Regions from separate parts of the Homo sapiens genome. Here region 1 is linked to region 2. Evidence: promoter capture Hi-C in human tissues and cell types (Jung and others, 2019). All regions are on one chromosome and are shown on one strand. The core of a region is centred on a gene start or on the middle of the fragment in contact, and the rest is flanking DNA. Distances in the headings are between cores, read along the strand shown. Region 1 has its middle 6.7 kb from the start of IGFL3. Region 2 holds the start of PGLYRP1 (peptidoglycan recognition protein 1).

Evidence for each region. Contacts are between HindIII fragments. The study calls those that stand out against the background at their distance.
Region 1: a contact is called between a fragment that was not itself captured here and the fragment with the promoter of PGLYRP1 in region 2, in 5 of the 25 tissues and cell types used here (aorta, heart left ventricle, heart right ventricle and 2 more).

What each region holds. Positions count from the first base shown.
Region 1 is chr19:46,128,137-46,134,660 of GRCh38, reverse strand. It overlaps a transcript of IGFL2 not described here. Among named protein-coding and RNA genes, the nearest start is that of IGFL3, 6.7 kb to the right of the region's middle. RefSeq lists enhancers at 1-189, 190-1,021, 1,022-1,853. The HindIII fragment of the contact is 6,419 bases long and covers 317-6,524 here.
Region 2 is chr19:46,020,551-46,027,236 of GRCh38, reverse strand. It overlaps PGLYRP1 (peptidoglycan recognition protein 1), which reads left to right and starts at 4,184. Exons shown (of 3, transcript NM_005091.3): 1 at 4,184-4,502. The coding sequence starts at 4,216. RefSeq lists an enhancer at 4,691-5,576. The HindIII fragment of the contact is 20,258 bases long and covers 1-6,686 here.

The sequences.
Region 1 (6,524 bases), core at 2,277-4,776, 110 kb before region 2:
CCCTATTGTGAACTGTGCATGTGAAGTATTTAGGTTGCACACTCCTTATCTAATCTAATACTCCTTATCTAATATGAGAATCTAATGTCTGATGATCTGTCACTGTCTCCTGTCACTCCCAGATGAGACCATCTAGCTGCAGAAGAACAAGCTCAGGGCTCCCACTGATTCTACAGTATGGTGAGTTGCATATGTAATATATAATGTATATTATTTCATTATATATTACAATGTAACAATAATAGACATAAAGTCCACAATTAATGTAATGTGCTTGAATCATCCTGAAACTATCCCCCTCCTCCTTTGTCCATGGAAAAACTGTCTTCCTTGGGAAACCAGTCCCTGGAGCCAAAAAGGTTAGGGACTGCTGTACTACAACATTCCTGCTGATCACAAAACCCACGCCACTACCTCATTGCTAATAGTCCTTTTACTTAAAGAATCCCAAGAACTGGTCTTAGGAGACAACCAAGATTCCAGAAAGAATGTTGAACAACTGATTCACAGCCTTGCTGCCACAGGCCAGACCACCAGGTGGTCTCTTCCTCAAGAAAACCATCCTAAGCAGATACTGCTGACCTGCATACCGTATACCTCTCCTGCTTTGCCCAGCCCAGCCTGCATACCCTACCCCTGATGTCAATTCCCACACTTTGCCTAATAAAAAAAGCCCTACCAGCTCTTTTCAGGGAGTCATCAGGGAATTCTTTCTCTTTTGTGCTGCCTCTCTTATTTCCAGGAATAATCTCCAATGAAGTTTTGTCTGGGAAAACTATTTTGACCTCATGTCAGTTTCTATTGCATTGAGAGCCCAAGAACCCAAGACCAGTAATGTATTATTTAGGGGCTTGCCTGGGATCATGGTGTAGAAAATAAAATAAGTAGAGGTTCCTCTTCAGAGGGACTTTCCTCCCAGTCTAATTGAGAATAGATAGTAACCTCTCTTAGAAGCAAAATTTACTCAAAGACCTGTGCTAATATTCTTAAATATCTGCTAGCCATAATAAAGAAATCAATATACTCTGCGTTCTTAGCTACCGCATTTTAGCCTAGATATTTGCCCTGGCATGCCTGAACAGGCCCAAGCAAGCATTAGGTCATAGCCTATTCCTCTTCCTTATTTGGAAGTGCTTTTGCCTCTCTCAGCATTCCACAAGTTACTTCCTGTCTTCCTTTGTTCTCCTCTGCCTTTGCCTCTTTGGGGAAGTTCTAAGTTGCTAGCCAATCAGGTCAAGTACAGAATGTGAGGTCCCATTCCAGCCAACGGAAGCCAGACACAGCAGTAGGGTGGCATATCAGGTTATAAATGACCCTGTCTCCTTTGTTCGTGTGTGCTCTCATGGCAAGACTGCTAGCAAGCGGCCCTCTTTCTGCAGAAAGTAAACTAGCCTTGCTGAGAGATCCTTTGTCTCAGTGTTGATTTTTGTGACACCGAGCACCCATTCCCAACAATGGGATGTGGGGAGCCTTTCTCTCCCTGAGGGGGAGACTTGTGAGCTGATGGGACTGCTGGACAAGATCCCTTCACGGCTGACAAGCAGCTGCCTGAACTTCTGATTCAGTGTCGCCAAGCTGGTTGAGTCTTTCTCCAGCCTGCCAGCCCTCCTTGCCTCCCCCATCCCTCCTGCAGGCAATGCTTTTCTCCCTTCCCTTCTTGCTTTCTCTCCTTTTCACTTCCTAACTTTTCTGTCACTTAGGGTGCCTTGTCTCTCCTCTCCTAATCCTTAGTGGTTTGGGTCACGTGAACAGATATCTGTGAGGGACAGGTTGAAATCGTTGACTACCTGGATCTGATCAACTCAGCAGGCAGTGGGACAGAGTGTACCTTTTCCCTGGCCTAAGTTGGTTTGGGTTCCAGTCCCAAGAAACAATTCTATCCATCCCTCCCTCCCTTTCTCCCTCCTTCCCTTTCTTCTTCTTTCCTCTCCCTCTCCCTCCCTTTCTCCCTCCTTCCCTTTCTTCTTCTTTCCTCTCCCTCTCCCTCCCTCTCTCCCTCTATCGTTTTCCCTCCCTCTTCCTCTCCTTCTCTCTCCCCTTCTCTGTCATACTGGCCCTCAATCCTGTAACTCTATTCAAAACCCCTCACCACTTCACTTTCTCTTTGCCACACCATGTGAGGAGGGGAAGCCTGTGGACTTTTCTGTCATCTGTCTGTTTGGGTGTGTGAGTCTATCAACTTTGGGTGCTGGCTTTTTAAGGAGAGAACTGACAGCACGTGGAACCAAAGTTTGTGTCACTTATGTCCCAATGAATTGTTTTCTTTCTGTGCATTTAATTCAATATCTTATTTTCCCATGCAACCCACTGGTTGGCCTCTTGTAAAAAGGAGAGACTTTTGCCTATGGTTCCATGAAATGGAAAGGGATCATTTTCTTTTGTAACGTGGCTTGGCCCCCACAGCTATGCCACAGGGAGCAAGGTCACCAAAGTTGCTCAGAAAAAGAGAACCCAAAACCGTAGCATGCCAGCAAAAGGGTAAGAATTTCTTACCAGCCAGGCTTCTGGACTTTCTCTGTGTGTGTGTGAAAACTGGTTAAGTGAATGACAAAATTCACTGTTTCCCTCCTCTGCAAGGCTTTAACCCATTTCCTGTTGGCCAAGAATATTCTTATCTTTAATACTAATGTAAAATCATATACATTTCTGCTACGTTAATACTAGAGACAAGTTCTGTTTAGAAACAACTCCAAGAACAGTTTTGTTTTTGTTGTTGTTGTTTGAGAGGGAGTCTCGCTCTGCTCCCCAGGCTGGAGTGCAGTAGCATAATATTGGCTCACTGCAACCTCCACCTCCTGGGTTCAAGCGACTCTCCCACTTCAGCCTCCCGAGTAGCTGAGACTACAAGCATAGGCCACCATGCCCGGCTAACTTTTGTATTTTTAGTAGAGACAGGGTTTCACCATATTAGCCAGGCTGGTCTTAAACTCCTGGCCTCAAGTGATCTGCCTGCTTCAGCCACCCAAAGTGCTGCGATTACAGGCATGAGCCAAGAAGGGGTTTTTATGTTTTATTTTCACACTGAAAATCAGTCATATTCGCTTCAGCCTCGAAGAGCATGTTTACGTAAAATTAAATGGGTGTTGACAGCAAACTAGACCTAATAAAAAAAGAAGTCGATAAACCTCTGAGACAGAAAGTATTAAAACATTAGAATGCTCATGCTTTCCAAAGCCAAACAATGTTTACAAAAAAATTTCATCTGAATTCCCATTTTTAAATTTTGCTATTTTTTAGGAGGAGGGTTTAGAAAATTACTTGGGAGCTCTTAAAGCTGACTGCACAAATATTGTCGAGTAAAGCTTAATGTAGTGTAATAAGGAGAGAAGTTTTTGTCTATTATTAAAATTTAAAACAAAGCTACTGTAAATGAACCAGACACTACCTAGAAAAATTACACATAAATCAATTGAACAGAGTCCATCAACAGATAAAGCTAATAATGGAAAACTGAGATATAAGAAAAGTAACATTGTACATTAGAAGAAAAGGGATGAAACTAGTCAACAAGTAATTTCAGATTCAATAGGACATTCATTAGCAAGAAAATTAACTTAGACTCAGCATCACATCTTATAGAAAAAGTTATATGTGAATAAAAATGACTAAAAAGAAAGTAAAAATATAGAACTATTCATAGAACTTTAAGTTGGAGATGGCCTCCTTACGTAAGCGGAAGCCAAAAAGTGGAAAGAAGATGTAGGGCAGTGGTAAAAGACACTGCTGCATAAAAATTTAAAATATCTCAAAAAAGAAGACTCCACCAGCATTACTGAGAAACAAACACAAAGGCGAGGAAAACATATAACAGACAAAAGGTTAGTATCTCCCATATAAAAAGAGCATTTATAAATTAATAAGAAGGAAGCAAACAACCCAAAACAATTATTCTGAATAGTGTATCATTTACAGAAAAGGAACTATACATCATTAAACATAAAAATAATGAGAAATACTGGGAACCTTCATCCAAGCTCATAAATTTCTTCTAATCTTAGTTCTTGCTCACTTTATTTTTTAATTTGGAACCTACCAAAGATAATAAATTCCTCTTTTTGCCACAGCTTAAGCTAGTTTAAACTGGCAAGCAACCACTTGCAAGTAACCAGTTTATAAACATAATGAAAAGGTGCTTCCAAGAACCTCAATAAACAGCATGTAGACAAACAAATGCCATATTTTAAATAACATGGTATGTTCTTTAACTCATCATCTGATGCTTGCTGGGGGAACTAAAATATTTATCAAAACTCTAAAGAAGTTATTGCCCTGTGAGATAATGAAAAAGGCTGTTTCATAGGAAACGTGTACTTCACCCACTTAGTTCAGGAGATCATACCCTGTAGTATTTGGTTTAAATAAACAGTGAACCTGAACCCTTGAAACTGCATGCAGTCCATCTCACATGCAATTACACCCACAGGCTCAAAATAAAGGGATGGAGGAAAATCTACCAAGCAAATGGAAAACAGAAAAAAGCAGGAGTTGCAATCCTAATCTCAGATGACTTTAAACCAACAAAGATAAAAAAAGACAAAGAAGGGTATTATGTAATAGTAAAGGGTTCAATTCAACAAGAAGGCCTAACTATCCTAAATACATATGCACCCAACACAAGAGCACCCAGATTCAGAGAGCAAGCTCTTTGAGACCTTCAAAGAGATCTAGACATCCATACAATAATAGTGGGAAACTTCAATACCTCACTGACAGTATTAGACAGATCATCAGGTCAGAAAATTAACAAAGATATTCAGGACCTGAACTCAGCACTGGATCAAATGGGCCTGATAGACATCTGCAGAACTCTCCACACAAAAGCAATAGAATATACATTCTTCTCACCACCACATGGCACACATTGAAAAATCGACCACATAATCAGACACGAAACACTCCTCAGCAAACACAAAAGAACCGAAATCATAACAACCACTCTCTCAGACCATAGCACAATCAAATTAGAAATCAAGACTAAGGAATTTGCTCAAAACCATACAATTACATGGAAATTGAATAACCTGCCCCTGAATGACTTTGGGGTAAATAATGAAATTGAGGCAGAAATCAAGAAGCTATTTGAAACCAATGAGAACAAAGATACAATATACCAGAATCTCTGGAACACAGCTAAGGCAGGAGTAAGAGGGAAATTTATAGTACTAATTGCCCACTTCAGAGAGTCAGAACTCAGCTTCACAACCTAACATCACAACTAAAAGAACTAGAGAACCCAGAGCAAACAAACCCCAAAGCCGGCAGAAGACAAGAAATAATCAAAATCAAAACTGAACTGAAGGAGACAGAGACACACACACACACACACACACACACACACACACACACACACACAAAAGATCAACAAATCCAAGAGTTGGTTTTTTGAAAAAAATTAATAAAATAGATAGAACACTAGCTAGATTAAAAAAGAAGAGGGAAGATCCGAATAAATACCATTAGAAATGTAAAGGGGGATATTATCACTAACCCCACAGAAATAATAACCATCAGAGAATATTATCAACACCTCTATGCACATAAACCAGAAAATCTACAAGAAACTGATATATTTTTGGACATATACACTCCCAAGATTGGACCAGGAAGAGATTCGGTCCCTGAATAGACCAATAACAAGTTCTGAAATTGAATCAGCAATAAATAGCCTACCAACCAAAAAATTTCCAAGACCAGATGGATTCACAGTTGAATTCTACCAGATGTACAAAGAAGAGCTGGTACCATTCCTACTGAAAGTATTCCAAAAAATTGAGAAGGAGGGACTCCTCCCTAACTTATTCTATGAGGCCAGCATCATCCTGATATCAAAACCTGGCAGACACACAACAAGAAAAGAAAGCTTCAGGCCAATATCCTTGATGAACATCAATGCAAAAAATCCTCAAGAAATCCCGGCAAACTGAATCCAGCAGCACATGAAAAGCTAATCCACCATGATCAAGCAGGCTTTATTCCTGGGATGCAAGGTTGGTTCAACATATGCAAATCAATAAATGTGATTCATTGCAGAAACAGAACTAAAGACAAAAACCACATAATTATCTCAGTAGATGCAGAAAAGGCTTTTGAGAAAAATTCAACACCTCTTCATGTTAAAAACTCTCAATAAACTAGGTATTGAAGAAATATACTTCAAAATAACAAGAGCCATCTGTGACAAACTCACAGCCAACATTATACAGAATGGGCAAAAGCTGGAAGAATTCACCTTGAAAACTGGTACAAGATAAGGATGCCCTCTTTCACTGCTCCTATTCAACATAGTATAGGAAGTCCTGGCCAGAGCAATCAAGCAAGAGAAAGAAATAAAGGGCATCTAAATAAAAAGAGAGTACATCAAACTATCCCTGTTTGCAGATGACATGATCCTGTATCTAGAAAACCCTACAGTCTCCACAAAAGCTCCTTCAGCTGATAAGCAACTTCAGCGAAGTTGCAGGATATAAAATCAATGTACAAATGTACATTTTTTGTACAATGTACAAAAATCACTAGCATTCCCA
Region 2 (6,686 bases), core at 2,935-5,434:
AAACTCTCACAATGGAAGGCTTCACTCCAGCTGGCTAATGTTTATATTCTTAGTGTCTTTAAGGGATCTGTGCCTCAAATGAAAGAACAGGCAAAAGAAAGGGAAAAAAGAAAATAAAAATTAAAAAAAGGAATGTGATGTGTAAATAGTCCTGTCTTTTTACAAAAGGCTGGCTTGGTGTTTTGTTGTCTTAAAGCTAAGGTACAAAGTTCCTGAATTCGTTCCAGGTTCCTCTATTTAAAACTTATACCTGGTGTGTCTGAAGTCCCCAAGGGAACAGGGTAGTCAAAGCATGTTCAAGGGCAGCAAGAAGGGGACAGTGGCTGCAGGAGTCAGAAAGAGGCTTTTGGGAGTAAGCAAGGTGAGGCTGGGATGGGGGCAGCCCATACTGTAGGCAGCCCATGCTGTTGGCCATGGGGAGGAGCTTGGGCCTCATTCTAGGAATCAAGAGATGCCAATGAAAAATGTGACTCATTTTTGAGGGTGACTTTAGAAAAGATCTGAGCAGAGCTTTGGCTTCACAGAGGCCAGAGTGCATCCTGGGAGGTCACTGAAGAGGCAGGGCAAAATCCAGGTGAAAGGAGGTGGTGTCTGGACCAGGGTGCAGAGAATGGAATTAGATAGAAGAGTTCTAATTCATCACAGTGGCATTCCTTGGTGGTGGGTTGCATATCCATTCAATCAAGTAGCTATTTAGTGAGCACCTACCATGTGCTGGGCATTCTTTTGGGTACTGGGTACAACAGAGGAAGGAACAGGAATTAGTCAAGGATGGTGCTCAAATGTATGGCTTTTGTAATGGGAAGATGGTGATACCATTTCCTTAGACAGGAACTCCTGTGAGAGTGCTGATGGGGAGGAGAAGGTCATGAGTCATTTTGCATTGGAGGTGCCTGTGGGACATCCAAGTGGAGGCGTCAAGTGGCCAGGTGGATACACAGATCCAGAACTCAACTGAGAGCTCCAGACTAGACATTGAAATACAGGAATCCTCTGCATTTTGACTGTGGCTGAAGCCATTATGTGGATAAGATCACTCAGCACAAAATATATGGTTTGAGGGTCCAGGAGGGAAGAATTGCTCTGAAAAAAAGAGAGAGAGAAAAAAAGACCAGCCAGAGAAGCAGAAGGAAAATCAAGGCAGTCTTACATCACAAAAGCTAAGGGAAATAAGTATTTTGAGAAGGAGGAAGTGGTCGACTGTGTCAATTGCTATCCAATTTCCCAAGATCATGTAGCTAATAAGGGGCAGAATGGAAATTTAAAACCAGGTCTACCTATATAATAAACAGAACCTGGGCAAACGGCTAGGCATCTGGAAACAAGATCAGACCCCTACCTCACACCACATGCAAGTATACATTTTAGCCGAGATAAAGATCTAAAAGTAAAACACAAAATAATCTTTTTTAAATAGAAAAAGTTTTACAATCTTAGTGTGAAAAGTCCCTCTTAAGGCAAGACAGGAAACACAGAAACCATAAAAGAAAAACCTAGATATTTTTTTAACAGATTAGAGGAAAGGGTTTACAGCACATTTGATAAGACATAGGGTTAATATCCCCCATATACAACTCAACAAGAAAATGATCAGAAGAGATGAACAGACAGTTTGAAGATGGATGCTGATAGCCATAAATATGTAAAAAGATAATCACCTCTCTAATGTTCAAGGAAATGCAAATAAAGCAATAATGAGATCTTGTTCTTTGGATTAGTAAAACATTTAAAAACTGATCATATTGTGGGAAAAATATATACTAAAATCTTTTTGGTATTGTATTTACCAATTCCTATTAAAATTTTAAGTGTAGCTCTACTTCTTAATCCAGGCACTGGATACACAGGTGGATTCACTTCGTGAACACTCATAAGCTCACTACTCTATTAAGTCTATCAACTCTATAAAAAATGTGTTTACACACTTTTTATATTACATTATTCTTTAATGCTTCTAAAAAAACTGAAATACACAAAATGTACACACCCAAGAAGTCAAAAATCCCAATTATGGGATTCTTTTGTTCATTTTGCAAATAATAACAAAAAGGCAAACAACCCAATTTTTTTTAATGGGCAATGGATATGAACAGGTAATTGACAAAAGAGCAAGCCCAAATATAGACAGCAAATACAGAAAAATACCCAGTCTCCTGAGTGGGTATAAAAATGCCAAAGGAGCTGTCACTTTATACTTATAAATTTAAGAAGTGATAACACTGGCCAGGCAAGGTGGCTCATGCCTGTAATCCCAGCACTTTGGGAGGCTGAGGTGGGTGGATCACCTGAGCTCAGGAGTTCGAGATCAGCTTGGCCAACATGGCGAAACCCCATCTCTACTACAAATACAAAAATTAGCCAGGTGTGGTGGCACATGCCTGTAATCCCAGCTACCTGGGAGGCTGAGGCAGGAGAATGGCTTGAACCCAGGAGGTGGAGGTTTACAGTGAGACAAGATCGTGCCACTGCATTCCAGCCTGAGTGACAGAGCGAGACTCTGACTCAAAAAAAAAAAAAAAAAAGTGATAACACCCACTTCTGGGGTCGGGGTGAGGAGGCTCCAAAACATTACTGGTGAAAAATATGAATTATTAATGGCTTTTTGGGGAAAATGATCTGGTAATATTAATTAAATATGTATACTCATTGACCTAATAACTCTGTGTTTATAATTTACTTATAAATGCACCAGTGCATAGGGATATATGTCTGAAAATATTTTGCGTAGTGTGGAGAAAATACTGGAAAACCTTCAAAAACTAAAAGATCCACAATGCTGAACTGATACTATAGCATATTGTGCAACTATTATAAAGAATAAATTAGAATTAGATGTACTGCCCTGGTGAGATGCCCATGAAATATTAGGTGACAAAAGGTAAATTGATGCACATGGTTTTGATTTTTTTTTTTAATGTCCTTATATAAGTTTGTAGGGAGGAGAATACGGTTTATAACTCTGCAGGCAGAAAGCCTGTAGCCAAACCCTGGCTTCATCACCTCCTGTATGTGATCATCCCCCCGGGCCTCAGTTCCGTCAACTGTAAGAGGGGTTAATAATAACATGGATCTGGCAAGCTTGTCGTTGAGTATATGATAATTTCTGAAAAGTGCTACAGATGCCTGGTGCACAATTCAGTAACAGCATGAGTACAATGTATATGAGAAGGCAGAACACAGAAGATGAAAACACACCACACAGGTCAGGCACGGTGGCTCATGCCTATAGTAATCCCAGCACTCTGGAACACTGGCAGGTGGCTCACCTGAGGTCAGGAGTTCGACACCAGCCAGGCCAACATGGCAAAACCCCGTCTCTACCAAAAATATAAAAATTAGCTGGGCGTGGTGGTGTGCACTTGTAATCCCAGCTACTCAGGAGGCTGAGGCAGGAGAATCACTTGAAGCCAGGAGGCGGAGGTTGCAGTGGCCCAAGATCGCACCATTGCACTCCAGCCTGGGTGACAAGAGCAAAACTCCATCTCAAAAAAAAAAAAAAAAAAAAAGGAAAATATTATTTATAAAATAGAAAATTAAAAAAAAAATTTTAAATACACATTTTTAAAAACCACTTGCAGGCTCTCACACACTGCATATCCAGGATTCACATGCAGGCAGCCTGGCTCTAGACGCGGGGCTCCAGTGCCTCCGGTGTCTCAGCCCGTGACTTCCCTGCTCTCAACCTCAGTTTACTCCACTGTGAAATGGACTTCCAGATACTCACCTCTTGAGTTTGCTGCAAGCGTAAATGGCATCAGGCTTGGACCTGGGGGAAGGAAGTGTTTTTAAAATGGGTAGCTTTGTTACCTCAGTCCTTGCGGGGAGAAGATGTGCCAATGCCCCGGGCCTCTGCGATGTAAGTTCCTGTTGAGTTGTTCAATGTTCCACTGAGAGGAGAGACAAGCAGGACCGGGATCCCGGCCCCGGGTCTTCCAGAAACGGCGGGGCGAAGCGCCCAGGGGCCTGTGCGTCCCTCCCTGCTGAGCGAGGGGGCCTGTCATTGCCGTGGGCGTGACCCAGACCCCAACCACAGTGCATCCCGCCCTGGCCCAGCCAGAGAAGGAAGCTGAGTCTGGGGTCTGCTGGGCCAGCAGGAAGTCCCAGCAGGGTGTGAAGCAAGACTTTCCGGGCCACTCCTGGAATCCCCCAGCAGATAAAGGCGGCCCCTCCACCGGGCGCTCCTAGCGGTCTCCCGGACCCTGCCGCCCTGCCACTATGTCCCGCCGCTCTATGCTGCTTGCCTGGGCTCTCCCCAGCCTCCTTCGACTCGGAGCGGCTCAGGAGACAGAAGACCCGGCCTGCTGCAGCCCCATAGTGCCCCGGAACGAGTGGAAGGCCCTGGCATCAGAGTGCGCCCAGCACCTGAGCCTGCCCTTACGCTATGTGGTGGTATCGCACACGGCGGGCAGCAGCTGCAACACCCCCGCCTCGTGCCAGCAGCAGGCCCGGAATGTGCAGCACTACCACATGAAGACACTGGGCTGGTGCGACGTGGGCTACAAGTGAGTGTGGCAGGGGGGCACGGGCTGGACTGGGGATCCCAGAGGCAAAGGTGTGCAAGTGCCCGCCAGCGGGACCATTTCTAGGCCTGGTGCTGAGGCCACCTGGCTGACACCCTGAGCAGCTTACTGAACCTCACAAGGTCATTTCTTCCTCGGGTCACCACGTGGGCCGGGGCAGGTGCTCACAGCACAAAGATGCGTGAGAAGGGGGGATGGGCTGAAATCCAAGCCCCGCTCCCGCTCCCGGGAAGAAGGGGCAGGCTTTGCCTAACACACACCAAGGTGTCCGCGACGCCTTATGAAGGCGCCCCTTCCTGATGCCTGGTGCCTTTGTTAGGAGGCGGAAAACCAGGCTGACTCAGTGCGGAGCTGGGTTCCAGGGTCAGCTCATCTTATTGCTGGCTGAGGCCTGGGGCGGGTCCTCCCGGCTTCAGCTTCCTCCTCGGCAAAGTCAATGGAATCGCGGCCCATCTGCTCCTTATATGAGCCAATACAGGCAAAGCACCTAGGAACTGCCTGGCACACGGGGGCCCGCAAAGCCACGGGCTATTACCATTAGGCACCTACTATGTGCCAGGCAGTGTGCCAGATGTGGCATGGAGAACGGTGCCACTCTAGCCTCCTGGGGTTGAAAGACCAGCAGGGAGAAACAAGCCAAGGCCACAGGTGAATTCAGACGGTGATAGAGGCGATGGATAAAAGGAAAGAGGTGAGGGAGGGTGACCTCAGGCTGGGACCAGACCCACACAGGCTCCTTGGAAGGGTGGGGCAAGGGAAAGCCTCCCTGAGAGTGGCTGCCTTGGCTCTGGGATGGGGGAGCAGACAGAGGCCTGCAGGTGGCAGGGGGTGCTGGGGGCAAAGCCAACGGGGTTGAGTGGGCGGGTCCTGTGGGAAGGACAGGGTGGCTGAACACAGCCGGGCGAGCGGAATGAAATGAGGAAAGGGCAGGACCAGGCAGGGCTTTGTGGACCACAGTGAGGACTGTAGCTTTTACTCCGAGATGGGAGCCATGGGAGGCTTCCCCCCGCAGAGCAGGGACCAGGGCTAGTGTAGGTACAAGAGACTCCCTCTGGCTGCTGTGGGGAGAACAGACTGTAAGGGGTGCCGGCTGAAGCAGGCTGAAGCAGGTCCGGGGCCACGCCTACCAGCTACCTCCTCCTTAGAATGGGCTGCAGTCCAGCCTGACGGTTTCCACAGGGAGGGAACTTTCAATCCTGCAGGCTCTCAGACCCAGGTAAGCATCAGAATCTCCTGCAGAGCTTATTGGAGGAACATGCAGGTCCCCAGAGACCACTTCAATAGACCCCACCCAGGGGACACATGTTCTCAGGACCTCCTAAGGCTGTGTCTCACACACACACACACACAAAACCCACCCAGAGAAGTCTAGAAGTGTCCAAAGGTATTCCCAGCCCTTCCAGTTCAAGATTTTATCAAAGACTCCAACTTCAACATTTTGTTTCCAAGACTCAGGCGCTCTGATCCTAAGTGTTCCCATGAGGTCACGAAGGCCCGAGCCTCGGGTCCACATCACCACATACAGAAGCAGCCGCTGTCTGGCCCTCAGCTTTTAGGATTCCGAATCTGGTTCTAACGTTCTGAATCCCCTTTCCATGTCACGTCACCTTCTCTCTCTGAGCCTCGTTTCTTCACCTGTAAATGGGGCTTCTGACTGTACCCGCTTGGCGATGGTGGCTGAGGTTTCAATGAGATGCATTCATGCAACAAATGACCAGGGAGAACCAACCACCCCCGACCCCAGCACCATCATGCCAGGCTCCGGGAATATGGCAGGGCCATAACCAGCCAGTCCCAGCAGCCAGCATCACCAGCAGGGCCATAACCAGCCAGTCCCAGCAGCCAGCATCACTGGGGCCAGATTCTGGGAGCTGGCTTCCTAAGCAGCAGATTCGGGACTCAAGATTCGGAAGTTCCGACATTCTGTGCGTCATTAATGACACTGTGAGCGCGGGGGCTGAGTTGGCACATACTGCAGCTCCAAGGCACTGATCTTCTAGTTCATTCCCATTTGCCAAGTCAGACACGCTCAATCAGATGTGCTGAATGAATCAGCCTTAAGGATCTGCTGCCAGGCTTGGGAACCTCAAAGAGGCAGGTGCTGGGGCTCCAGGGTCGGTATCTGGTTACGACCCCAACTTTGAGTCTGTGATCCTGTCCCCCAGT